2 separate regions of the Homo sapiens genome follow, and region 2 is linked to region 1. The links are contacts of gene promoters, found by promoter capture Hi-C in blood cells and fetal thymus (Javierre and others, 2016). All regions are on one chromosome and are shown on one strand. Each heading gives the region's core, a stretch centred on a gene start or on the middle of the fragment in contact. The rest is flanking DNA. Distances are from core to core; before and after follow the strand shown. Region 1 holds the start of GRHL1 (grainyhead like transcription factor 1). Region 2 overlaps ODC1-DT (ODC1 divergent transcript).

What was found. The method cuts DNA at HindIII sites, captures the fragments that hold promoters and counts their contacts. A CHiCAGO score of 5 or more calls a contact.
Region 2: a contact is called between a fragment that was not itself captured here and the fragment with the promoter of GRHL1 in region 1, in 1 of 17 cell types (neutrophils). The highest score is 6.4, in neutrophils.

The regions. Positions count from the first base shown.
Region 1 is chr2:9,946,450-9,952,942 of GRCh38, reverse strand. GRHL1 (grainyhead like transcription factor 1) reads right to left here and starts at 1,250. Exons shown (of 16, transcript NM_198182.3): 1 at 1,090-1,250. The coding sequence starts at 1,109. LOC105373422 (a long non-coding RNA gene) reads left to right here and starts at 2,090. Exons shown (of 3, transcript XR_922784.4): 1 at 2,090-2,238. RefSeq lists silencers at 960-1,499, 1,590-1,639, 1,740-1,789, 1,940-2,019. The HindIII fragment of the contact is 14,804 bases long and covers 1-6,493 here.
Region 2 is chr2:10,450,328-10,456,820 of GRCh38, reverse strand. ODC1-DT (ODC1 divergent transcript) reads right to left here. Exons shown (of 5, transcript NR_110597.1): 3 at 4,352-4,540; 4 at 2,763-2,952; 5 at 1,269-1,398. Among named protein-coding and RNA genes, the nearest start is that of ODC1-DT, 3.8 kb to the right of the region's middle. The HindIII fragment of the contact is 3,130 bases long and covers 3,679-6,493 here.

The sequences.
Region 1 (6,493 bases), core at 1-2,500:
TGAAATATGTTTCAGGCAATAATTTAACTGCATATTCTACAACATAAGAGTAATCCATTTAAGATACTCCATACAAAATATCTATCTCATCCAGAAAAAGAACACACTGACAAAAACCGATCCTTCACAAATAACTAAGAAACTGGGAGGGGTACCTATCTGCCTTAAACTTCCTGATCTGAAATATACTGACTGGCCTGGTGCGATTTCCCTGTTTTTTCTTTAGTAAGTTTTTAAAATTTTTAGGACAATTTTATATTTTCAGAAAAGCTGCAAAGAAAATACAGAAAACTCCCTCGCCCAGTTAATCCCCCATGCCTTATTACACTACCACCTCACATTTGTCGAAATACGCTTTTAAATCACACACTCTAAAAAGCATATTAGCTTGTACAGTACTTTCTCGTTTAACACCCGGATTTCAAAGTTTCATCCTCTTGATTCTCTCGAGCACTAAAAACACGGTAATCTGTAATTACCATCAATGATGCAAGTGGCAAAATAACTCCTACAGCCGTTTTCCCACTCATGCCGCCAGCCAGGGAAAAGAAAACGCCCGGACATCGGGGCACTTCAACCTTTCCCTACATTTCTGTTTTGGAGGTTCCAGCAGGTCGCCGAGTGACGAGCCTGAGACCACAGATTACCTGGAGAAGTCCACCTGTCCCGACGCGGCGCGAGCCCCACCAGGCTCCCGAGGCCGACCGGGCAGGAGAGGGGGGCGGGGAGGCCCGGGGGCGTTGGCTGCGCCCCGACCTCGCGCCGCACCCGACCGCGCCGGGGGCCCGGACCCCAAGGTGCGCGCCCGAGGGGACCCAACCTGGCCGCGGAGGAGGGGAGGAGGGTGGCCCCTCCGGTGTCGAGTTTCCCCGAGGACAGGGTCTCTCCTCCCGAGGCTCCGACCGAACAAAGAGCACGGCAGGGCTAAGGGGCAAAGGCCGTGGCGGCGTGGAGTGGACAGCGGCCCCCGGCTCGCGCCCCGCGCCCGCCCGCCCGCGCGGCCTCGGGTCTGCGCCCGGCTCGCTCGCTGCAGGTGCGGCCCCTCAGCGCGGCCCCCCCGCGGCGGCCGGACTCCTGCGCCTCACTCACTTGTCGTACTCCTGTGTCATCGCGCCCGCTCGCCGCTGCCGGGCCGCAGAACTGGACTTTCGGGTTGGGACAGTACACCCGATCCGGGGGGAGGAGGCGGCGGCGGCGGCTGCGGGTCCGGAGCGGCGGCCCCGACGGGTTGGGTTTGCTTTTCTCGCTCTGAGCCGGCTCCGCGCGGGCTGCGCGCACTGGGCGCCGGGCTCGGCCGCTCATTGGCTGGCGATGCGCCGGCTGGGGGCGAGGCCTCGGGGCTGGGAGGCCGGTCGCGCCTCCTGATTGGTCGGCGAGAAGAGCGCCGGGGCGGGGCTGACGGGGACGAGCGGCGCGGGGCGGGGGGCGGGGGCCGCGCGTTCCGCGAGGTTGCGCCCGGGACTGCGCTCCCGGGGCTGCGCGCCCGACTCGCGGCCGTACGCGCCTGCCCTGACAGGAGAGGGAGCGCTGCGGCTGCGGCGCGCACCCGCCAACCTCCGCGCGCACCGAGAGCGCCCCCGCTCGCGCCCCGCCACCGCCCCCGCCGCCCCCGCCGTCCCCGCCGTCCCCGGCCATCCCCTTCGCGACGAGCCCCGGCCGTACAGCCGCCTCCTTCTTCGCTCACTCAGGCCTCCGCGCCCCGTGCCCACATTGCCCGCTGTTCCGGCCCCAGCGCCCCGCGCTGCCCCTGCGCTCGCCCGGCGGGGGCGCCTCTGCCGGTCGCCGCGCTCCCCGGTCGCGCGTCTCACCTCTCGGTTCTCGCAGGCTGTCACGCCCGAGTCCCGTGGCTTCCCCCGAGAGCCGTCTCCGGAATGTCCCTTCTCCTGGCCCACCGCGGCCGCGCGCTTTTAGGATTTCTTGCCCTCGCAGCTCCCGCGGTCCCCTCGGCGGCAGTCCCTGGGGCTCCGCGATGTCTGTGCCCCGCAGCCTCCCGGGCGCCACTTCCCCGCGCGGCCGCCCCACGCTGCCCGTGCAGTCGCGCGCCCCGGGCCGGCCCCGGGCACCACTCCACCGCGACGGCCCCCACTTGTCCTTCCCGAGCTGCCGTCTTTCCCAGGGTCCGCTCACTGAGTCCCCACATGCCCAGCGTCGGACCTGACCCTCGGACAGGCGCGGCCCCAGACGCCGGGGACAGGGCAGTCAACAGAACAGACACAACTCCTCGCCTTCCTAGTTGGGGTAACGGGCAATACAAAAACAAGTAAATGGTGTGGCTGGTTGGAAGGTAAAGCAGGCAGGCCCTGGGGAGGCGGGGAGGAGCGAGGCTTTCAGGCTTGAAGGAGATGAGGGGCCACGAAGGTGGGACTGTACCTGAGGCAGGGACCCTGGTGTGTTTTGTGACCCTTGAGGAGACCCGGGTGGCTGGTGGGGCACAGGGAGGCGGGAGCTGCGGTCAGAGATAGTGGGCGCAGGGGAGCGGATTGAGCAGGGCCTTGCCGGCTTCCGTAAGGACTGTGGCTTTCCCTCTGGGCTAGGTGGGGACGCCTTGGAGGGGCTTGGAGCAGGGTAGTGACAGGGTCTCACATTTTAAAATAGTTCTCTGCTGCTGCGTGGTGGGGACCAGGTAGGAGGCCATTGCCATGATGCAGGCCGAGGGCAATAGAGTGAGGTGGTGGGAAGTGGCCGAATTCTGGATATGCTTTGAAGGTGGGACCAGCAGGATTGTCTGAAAATTGGATATGGGGTGTGAGAGAAAGAGAGAATCAAGGATGACTACAGCGTTTCCAGCTGGGCAACTGGAGGAATGATTTGCCATCCCCTGGGATACAGAAGACCTGGGGCATAGAAGATTTGGGGGAGAACGAGAGTCTGTTTTGGACGTGCTAAGCTCAAGATGTATGGGAGATAAAAATCCATGAATCAGGTGGGCTCCTGGGTACGAGGCTGGAGTGCAAGGGAGAAGTCTGGGCTGAAGCTCACATCTGGGCGCCGCCCACGTCTAGAGGCCATTTAAAGCCATGAGAAGGCAGGAAGGAAAGAGGATGGGACCCATGCTGGATCCAGGAGCCTCCGACACAGAAAGGCTGGGAGGAAGAGCCAGTGGAGGAGACAGAAGACGGGGACACCGAGGTCGGAAGCAATGGAAGCGTGGAAGCCAAGGGAAGGAGGTGAAGTGAGGAGCAGCATGAGGTCACAGGGCCCTCCTGCAGCCAGCAGTCCCTCCTCTGTGCCCTGGTCCAAGGCCTTCAGGGACCGGAATCGGCAGCCTCACTTGAGACCGCCCTTCGCAGTTTCTGTCCTCTGACCCCGGGCCCAGCACTGGATCCATGCAGCCTGTTGTTTGTTCTTACCACTAGTTTCCTGTTTAAATCATTTATTATTTTTTTCTTTTCCTTTTTTTTTTTTTTTTTTTTTTTGAGGCGGAATCTCCCTCTGTTGCCCAGGCTGGAGTGCAGTGCCGTGATCTCAGCTTACTGCAACCTCTGCCTCCTGGGTTCAAGCGACTCTCCTGCCTCAGCCTCCCAAGTAGCTAGGATCACAGGCGCCCACCACCACGCTCGGCTAATTTTTCTATTTTTAGTAGAGATGGGGTTTCACTAAGTTGACCAGGCAGGTCTCAAACTCCTGACCTCAGGCAATCTGCCCGCCTCGGCCTCTCAAAGTGCTGGGATTACAGGCATGAGTCACCGCGCCCTGCCAAATCAATTATGTTTTCTAAGCACGCTAATTTAAGAAAAATGCTAGTCAATAACAGCACAGATGGTCCCAAATAGGGTACAAGTCATCAGGGTGGTGCCAAAGTGACTGACTTGGGAACAGTGTCCCTCTACCTGCCTTTCTTCTATTTCCTCTGACCCGGCTCCACACTGCCACTGGAGTGGCCTTTATAAAACACAGATTTCTTGTCACTCAGTTATACTCACCATAAAGTCCACACTCCTGAGCTCAGCCTCCCCTTGGCGGCCCAGCACTTCCCTTACTGCTCACTCCCAAGCACCGTCCCCGCATTCCCTGCTCCTTCCCTCCATGCTTGGCCCACTCCACTCAACTTCCAGCCTGGCTCATTTCCTCCAGGTGGCCTTCCCAACCCTCTAGGCTGGACAAGGTGTCCTGTGGGATCCACAGCGCCTTCTGCATTGCCCATCACCATGTTTGTCTTATGGGCTTTCCTGTTTGTGTCTGTCTCCACCAAGTGTGAGCTTTTCCAGAGAGGGCAGCGGTTGTACCACCTTCATTTTTATGTTCCTGGTGCCTGGTATATACATAGAAAATATCCAGCAAATGTCTACTGAATGGATGCAGTCCTCTGCAGGCATGCGTTCTGCGCCCAGTCTCCTCCCTTCTGTAGCATAGCTAGGGCTCTTTTAAATGACCCCCCCCACCGTTGCAGAAGATGAAAGTCCTTGAGCCTAATACATGGTAGGCACAAAATAAATAGGGGATGAATGAAGAAATATCCAATCATAAAGCCAAAAACAAGAACAGGAAGAGCCTGAGGTTATTAGACCATAGCTGTAGTAATTAAAAACATTGGGTCTATTTTGTCAATTTGAATATGGGATTGTTTAGTTTGTCTCTAATAGCTCTCTAAAACAGAAATGAAAATCTCTATCTATGACCTGTTGCCATGAACCCTGTTTATTTCATTTTATTTTATCTGAGACAGGGTCTCACTGTGTTACTCAGGCTGGAGTGCAGTGGCACCATCACAGCTCACCGCAGCCTTGACTTCCCAGGCTCAAGTGATTCTCCCACCTCAGCCTCCTGAGTAGCTGGGGCTACACGTGCACACCACCACACCTGGCTAGTGTGTATGTGTGTGTGTGTGTATGTTTTGTAGAGACAGGGTCTCACCATATTGCCCAGGCTGGTCTTGAACTCCTGTGCTCCAACGATCCTCCCATCCTCCCAGCCTCCCAAAGTGCTGGGATTACAGATGTGAACCACCATGCCTGGCCTACCCTCTTCATTTTTAAGTTCTTTACTATTTGTTTAAATTATTAAAGTAATATATGCACATAGTTTTTATGGAAGAAAAAATGCTGGGCGTGCTGGCTCACGCCTGTAATCCCAGAGCTTTGGGAGGCCGATGTGGGCAGATCACCTGAGGTCAGGGGTTTGAGACCAGCCTGGCCAACATGGTGAAACCCCATCTCTAACAAAAATACAAAAATTAGCCGGGCATGGTGGTGGGTATCTGTATTCCCAGCTACTCGGGAGGCTGAGGCAGGAGAATCGCTTGAACCCAGAAGGCGGAGGTTGCAGTGAGCCAAGATCGCGCCACTGCACTCCAGCCTGGGTGACAACAAGACTCCATCTCAAAAATAAAAAAAGATAGAAAGGGATTAGGAACGGGACAAAGAAAGGAGAAAGGAAGAAATTGAAGCTCTGCAGAAGGATACAGAATGCAGTCCCTGGCCTCCTCCATTCCCAGCCCCTAATCCTTGAGACAACCACTGTGAACAATTTGTGTTGATCTTTCCAGATATCTTCTGTCTGTACAAGCACTCACATGGTTTATTTTCTTAGACAAATGGGATTCGGACTGCACAATCTTCCACAGCTTGCTTGTTTTTCCTTTCTATGGTTTAAACATTTTCCACATCAGCACATAGAAATCTAGTTCACTTTAAAAAATGGCTGTATGGTGTTTCCTTGAATGGCTATATGATAACTTGAATGTATTGGTGAGCAATTAGGGTTTTTTCCCCTAGCTTTTCTTAATTACAAACATTCACAATAACACATTCCTCTAACTACATTTTTGCACACTTGATCAGGTATTGCCATAGGATAAATTCCTAGAATCGGAGTTACTGAGAAAAGGGAATGCACAGCTGCCATTTGGTTTTTTGTTTGTTTGTTTTTTGAGATGGAGTTTGGCTCTTGTTGCCCAGGCTGGAATGCAGTGATGCAATCTCTGCTCACTGCAACCTCCACGTCCCGGGTTCAAGTGATTCTCAAGCCTCAGCCTCCAGAGTAGCTGGGATTACCAGTACCTGCCACCACACCCGGCTAATTTTTGTATTATTAGTAGAGATGGTGTTTTGCCATGTTAGCCAGGCTGGTCTCACACTCCTGACCTCAGGTGATCCACCCATCTCGGCCTCCCAGAGTGCTGGGATTACAGGCATGAGCCACTGCCACCGCACCTGGCCTGCAGCTGCCATTTTCCTGGCTCTTGCCGGATTGTTTTCCAAAAGGCTGCTCTTATTTAGATTCCTACCACAGAATATCAGACTGCCTACCGTGCCGCACCCTAGACAACCGTGGGCAACATTGAAGTTTGCTTGGCTAGTCTATTCGATGAAAAATGGGATCTCGTTGTTTTGAATTGCTTTTTTTTTTAAGTTATGAGTGAGGTTTTTCATCTTTTTATTTGTTTGGCAATAATCTTTTTAAACTCAAAGGTAGTGTTTTTTCAAAGAAAGAGGATCTTTGAAGGTACCTTCCCAAGCCATGAGTTTCAGAGTAGAGAACTAATTTGGGACCC
Region 2 (6,493 bases), core at 3,994-6,493, 500 kb before region 1:
AACCCCAAAGCTGGGCTCTTCCAGACAGAACTTCTTGCTAGGCTATGAGGGTCCTGGCTAAGAATTTCATTATAAAAATATTGTAGCTGCTTCTTTCAGTTGCATGGCTGCATAACAAATTACCCCAAAACTTAGTGGGGTTAACAACCATCTTTTATATGTCTGCTGGATTCTGGGGGTCAGGGACAATAGGTACTGGTTTGTCTGCTGGCTGATGTCTGTGAATGCAGCGCTCTTCAGGGACTGAGCTCTGGGGATTGCAGCCTTATAAGCGTCGCATGCTGCACTGAGCTTCTACAGTGAGCCCTGCACAAATCCATCTCCATTCTTCAAAACAACCTGGGGAGCCCTGGAGTGATCTCAGATTCAGCCCCAAGGTGGGTATCCTCTGCCATTCTCCTCTCCTTTCTTCTAGCAGTCCAGCCCTGCTTTTGTTCTGATAGTGGATGGTTCCCTAGGGCTGCTATAACACAGCACCACTGTGCTTAAACGACAGAAATCTATCATCTCACAGTTCCAGGGGCCAGAGGTCTGAGATCAAGGGGTTGGCGGGCTGGCTTCCCTCTGAGGGCAGCGAGCATCTGCGCTGTGCCTTCCCCGAGCTCCCAGTGACTTACTGGTTGTCTCTGAAGTTCCTCGGTGTGTAGAGGCATCACCCTTATCTCTGCCGCATTCACAAGGTGTTTTCCCTGTGCGTCTCCATCGTCCCCCATCTTTTTATGGCTCACTGCAGCCTCAAATTCCTGGACTCAAGCGATCCTCCCACCTCAGCCTCCTGAGTAGCTGGGACTACAGGCATGCACCACCACACTCGGCTAATTTTTTTGTTTTTAATTTTTTTTATAGATACCGGTCTCCCTATGTTACCCAAGCTGGTCTTGAACTCCTGCCCTCAAGCAATCCTCCTGCCTTGGCCTCTCGAGGCACTGGGATTATATGTGTGAGCCACTACACCCAGCCCCAAATTTCCCCTTTATATCAGGACACCAGCCCACCCTAACACCCTCATTTAACTTAATGACCTCCATAAAGACCCTATCTCCTAATAAATTCACGTTCTGCAATACTAGGGTTAGGACTCAACATACGGTCTCGGGGGCAGGGGACATAATGTAACCCATAACAGAGGGCATCTTCATGCTCTTCGTGGGAGGCCTGAACCCATTTCCACGCAAAAGAGTGGATCCTAGTGGGTTTAGTCAACCATGGAGGGATGGGGGAAGGCGAAGGGATCCGTGCATTCCTCCTGGGGAGCCGAGGGGAAGGATGCTGGTCAAACTGGTTTCTTAGATAAAAAGAGACATAGAGGAAGAGATGCTTCTCCCTCTGTCCACAAGCCTTCCTGGGGCAGCCTTCTTGGAACCATGAAGAGAGCTGGGCCAACACCTGGGCAAGGAACTGCAAAAACAGGAAAAGAATCCAGGTCTTCAACGTTGTTCTTGAGGCTCCGAATACATGAAACTGGAGACTCCCTTCCCCAAGCCACGTTGCTACGTGAGATGACTGCTTTTCCTTATTGCTTAAGCCAATGTGAAATGTCACCAGTGCTTACCAGAACTCTGGTTAGAAACTGTCCTACAAGAAGGCAGAAGGAAGACTCTGACGGGCCTACCGCCAAGGGGCCGAGCCTGCCCTTGCCCGCCCGCTCTCAGACCCATTCCCCACTCCCACTGTGCCTCTGCTGTTTCTCTGGTGGAGTGGACAGGGCTGGCCTTGGAAAATGACACTGACCGGGATCTCTTGTCAACAGGCTTCTGACTGGGAAGTGCTGGTGGGAGCCTGGAGGATGGGCGGAGGGGAGAGCTGGCTCCTGTCCCTCCTCTCTGTCTCCATCTCCCTCTCCCTCTCTTGGCTTCGCAGCCTCCCCAGCACTAGCTGCTTGCCCTTGGTGGTCAGTGGGTTTCTCTGGGACAGCCCACAGGTGGCTGCCACGCTGCTGGGGACCCTCGTCCCCTTTCATCCCCAGTCCTCTGGGTGATAGTGGCTTCCTGCAGCTGTAAGACATGTCATCTCTGTAACTAGTTCTCTTGCTAAATTCCCTCTGCTGAACTGCCTGCCTGGGCCCTGAGCCATACAGGGCATGGAATGCCAAAGGGAAACATTCTGTGCCCGCATGTGGAGGCCGACCTGCCTTCTACGATGGCGGGGCCCTGCTGTCAGCCAGGATTTGGATGGACTGATGGAGGCTGGAGCTGGGTGAAGTAGCAGCCCCTGGGGGTGAGAGGCTGCTCCCCAGAGTGACTCCTCCTCTGCTCTCCCCTTCACAGCCCTCAGTCCTCTCCCAGAGGAAAGCTGGGCTTGTGGGCGGGAGCCTCCCTTGGTGCCCACAGGTCTTATTCTTGCCCTGGGTGCTGCAGGCCCCTCCCTAACTCTCCCTGGCCCTGGACGAGCCTTTCCAAACCCAGGCCCCTGCTCCCTCGGCTGCGTCCACCTCCTTTGTCTGTGTGACCACTGTCCCAGGGACCAGAACCTAGAGAGCACAAGCCTGGGGGCAGCCTCCCCTCTGGACCATGAGCTCCTGGAGCACAGGGACCTCCTTGGCCTCCCCTCCTTCTCCCTGGCACCTGGCAGGGGCGCTGGCACAGAGCAAGTGCTCACAGCTGTTAGAACAGAGACAGGGAGCACTGCCCTCAGGGTACCCTACCCCTTGGAGGGCCCGCAAGGCTCGGTGTAGCAGACCCCAGCCACAGGCCCTTCGGATGGTCCCGCCTCTGACTTGGCAGGGACGCAGAGCTCACACTGCCCCTGGGCAGAGCACTCACCTTCCTGAAGACCCAGGTTGTGCAAGGGCCCTCCGCATGCTGCTCCCTGTCACGAGAGGAAAAAATCTTGCAGGCGCTGGGGCTTCCCAGAGGTGGGGCCCCACCAGGGTGAGGCTCTGGCAAAAATGGGGCAGTGGCAAAGCCCAGCAGAGGTGCTGCAACTTGTTGGGTCAGAGGGAGTCACCAGGCGCTTAGGAGAAAATAAAACAAAAGAGGCAGTTTCCTTAGGCACTGGGTAAAAGCGAGGCTTCTCTTGGCTCTTATCAATTCCCTGCTGGTCCCCAGGAACCCGGCCCAGCCACAGAGGGTCCTCCCTTGTCCTGCCTGCCACTTGCACACAGGTGGCACTCAGCAGACACGTATGGAATGAATCAACAAACAACTGACTAAAGGAAGAACACCCAGGGTCTTTTGTTCCCCTAATCTTAGATAGCACGTGGGGAGAAATTCTCCTGAGCTAATCACTCGTATAGCAACCACAAATGACCACTTTTCAGCACAGCCTCGCTTGCTTTCTTTTGTTCCCAATAGCCCACAGGTGCTACTAAACCCAGTTTCAACTTGACAATATTGAATGGCTTTGTGAGCCAGGAACCAGGCTAGAAACTGAACATATGGAGAGAAGAAAATCATGGTCCTGATTTCAAAGGGAGAGTTGCGGGGAGGGGAAGGCAGGATGGAGGCAGGAAACAAAGGTGCCCACACCACGTGACCCACGTTACGATGGCAGGGGCAGGGTCTGTGGAACATCAGTGGCTCAGGGAGCTGGAGTGGCAAAAGAGGCTGGGAGGGTGGGCAGGGCAGGCCTCAGAGGGTCCTGGGTGCCAGGCTAAGGTGTTTGGACTTTACTCTGTGGACCCAGGGCCACCAGTGAAGGGCTTGAAACAGACAAGCCAAGTAGGCAGATGGCAAAGCTTCTGTCCACGTGTCGGATGGCATGTCTGAATACTGACTCGGTACAGGCTTAATGGGACTCTGACTTCTGCCCACTGAAAAAGACAAGGAAGTGGGAAGCAAAATAATGATAAACATCACTTTCCCCATGAAAATGAACTCCTCCAGGCCGGGTGCGGCGGCTCACACCTGTAATCCCAACACTTTGGGAGGCTGAGACGGGCGGATCATTTGAGGTCGGGAATTTGAGACCAGCCTGGCCAACATGGCGAAAACCTGTCTCTACTAAAAATACAAAAAATTAGCCAGGAGTGGTGGTGCACGCCTGTAGTCCCAGCTACTCAGGAGGCTGAGGCATAAGAATAACTTGAACCCAGGAGGCAGAGGCTGCAGTGAGCCAAGATTGTGCCACTGCACCACTCCAGCCTGGGTGACAGAGTAAGACTGTGTCTCAAAAAAAAAAAAAAAAAGTACTCTTCCAAACTCTCAGCCTCCAGACAAGGGCCCCCTCTTCTCTGCAACTGTGTGTGCCCACTGACCTGCCCCCAGGGCCCTTCTGGGCTCCAGGAGGCCCTGGCCTAGTTCCTATTTGGCTCCTTTCCCAGCAGCTTCCCAGTGAGCCACACCAGGGCTGGGGCAAGGTAGGGCCGTGATGTAACACTTTATAAAACAAACATCCTGGGACTTCCACTTACACATGGGCGTCCTCTGCTTCCAGCAGATCCTTTTGGAGGAGCTCCACTTTTCTGATGATGCCACCATTGCTCAGAGGAAGGAAGGCCTCCCTGAAAGCTGCTTTCTATGCCTCAGGCACGCCATTTGGATTATGGGCAGAGATGGCACACTTTCCACCTTGGAGGGTGGATTGGATTTTTCGGAAACACCTAAAACCATTCAAAGGGCAAGGTTAAAGGACTGGTGAGTGACTGAGCTAAGGAAAACTATTTTTGGCCAAACATCCAGATGGGACTAGAGCATCTGTGACTAGTCCCCATTACCCAGGTGTCCTGAGTTAGGGCACCCTTGCCAGGGCAGAAGCTAACCTCCCAAAGTCCTCATGGGGCTGGAGGTCATGAGCCTCACTCCACAGTCCACTCTTCTATGCTTCTGGAAGAAGTTTGGTGAAGTAGAGTACAACCACGGACACGTAAGCAGCGCCCAAACCCATTTTCCAGAAAGCTCTCAATGTCAAACTTTCCAATACTGAGTAAATGGATACACAAATGCTTGCTGGTTATTGTCTTCTATGTGACCTACTTCTTTTTGATAAGGGTGAGGCCAGGCGCGGTGGCTCACGCCTATCATCCCAGCACTTTGGGAGGCCAAGGCAGGCAGATCACTTGAGGTCAGGAGTTTGAGACCAGCCTGGCCAACATGGTGAAACCCCATCTCTACTAAAAATAGAGAAATCAGCTGGATGTGGTGGTGGGCGCCTGGATTCCCAGCTACTCAGGAGGCTGAGGCAGGAGAATTGCTTGAAACTGGGAGGCAGAGGTTGCAGTGAGCCAGTATTGCGCCACTGCACTCCAGCCTGGGCAACAGAGCAAGCCTCTTGACTCAAATAATAATAATAATAATGATAAGGGTGACTGCTTAAGTCTGCAATCACTATATACCTTTATAAGCCTTTTCATGTAAGTTAGCAAAGAAGAAAAAAGATACTTCCTTCATCAGACATGTTTTTGGTTTTGGTTTAGAAAACTTGGTCAGTGGATTTATACAGAACTCTGTGAAATAAGTAGATTCTTAGAACATTAGAAGGAAAGAAGAACCTGAGCTTTCAGCCAGTCCAACCACCCCATTTTCAGAAAGGTAGTCTGGAACCCAGAGAGACAGAGTGATGTCCAAACTTTCATAATGAGCGGGGCAGAGCGGCGGGGGGGTGGTAAGGGGGCCCAAGGAATCCTAAGAAAATGGGAGTTGGTCCCAGAACTTAGGTGAGATGACTAAGCTCTTAGAAGCATGTCCAGTGTAGTATCTAATGTTTTTATTCACTCTTTTAGCACCACACATAGAAGTCTCATCTCTGGCCAGGCACAGTGGCTCACGCCTGTCATCCCAGCACTTTGGGAGGCCGAGGTGGGTGGATCACTTGAGGTCAGGAGTTTGAGATCAGCCTAGCCAACATGGCGAAACCCCATCTCTACTAAAAATGCAAAAATTAGCTGGGCACGGTGGTACATGCCCGTAATCCCAGCTACTCAGGAGGCCGAGGCATGAGAATCGCTTGAGCCTGGGAGGCAGAGGTTGCAGTGAGACGAGATCACGTCACTGCACTCCAGCCTGGGCAACAGAGTGAGACTCTCAGAAAAAAAAAATAAAAAAGAAATCTCATCTCCACATGAGGGTGATTCCTAAGTGCGTGGCATCACGTATTTTTTTTACAAAGATCTGTTGCTTGTTTCCGAAGAAAAGAAAATAGTAATGGAGAGGATGAAGTTTACTGAAAATACATTGAAAGACAATAAAGTCATGCATTTTAAGTAAGGCCAGGTTTAGTCACCACCACCTGAGCTTCTGGAATCCAGCTGAGTGGTTGGGTTTCACAACTCCAGCCTTGCTGTCCACAGTTCTGCTGCCCAGGGCCTCTGCGGGTCTTCCTGCAGCCGCAGAGCAGAGCTCCGGGGAAGGAGCAGGCCTCCTTCCCTCCTTCTATTTCCCCTGCTGGGCTCTCCAGGCAAGGGCTCACCTTCCCAGCATGCGGGCAGGAGTTTGGGCTTTGGGGTGGGCTGGCGGGAGAGGAAGGTATGTGGGCGATAGCAGTGTGAGTGGCTTGTATGTGCAACAGTCAGAGCCCTCCTGGCTCCCTGAGCCAAGAACTGGCCTCTACGTTCCAG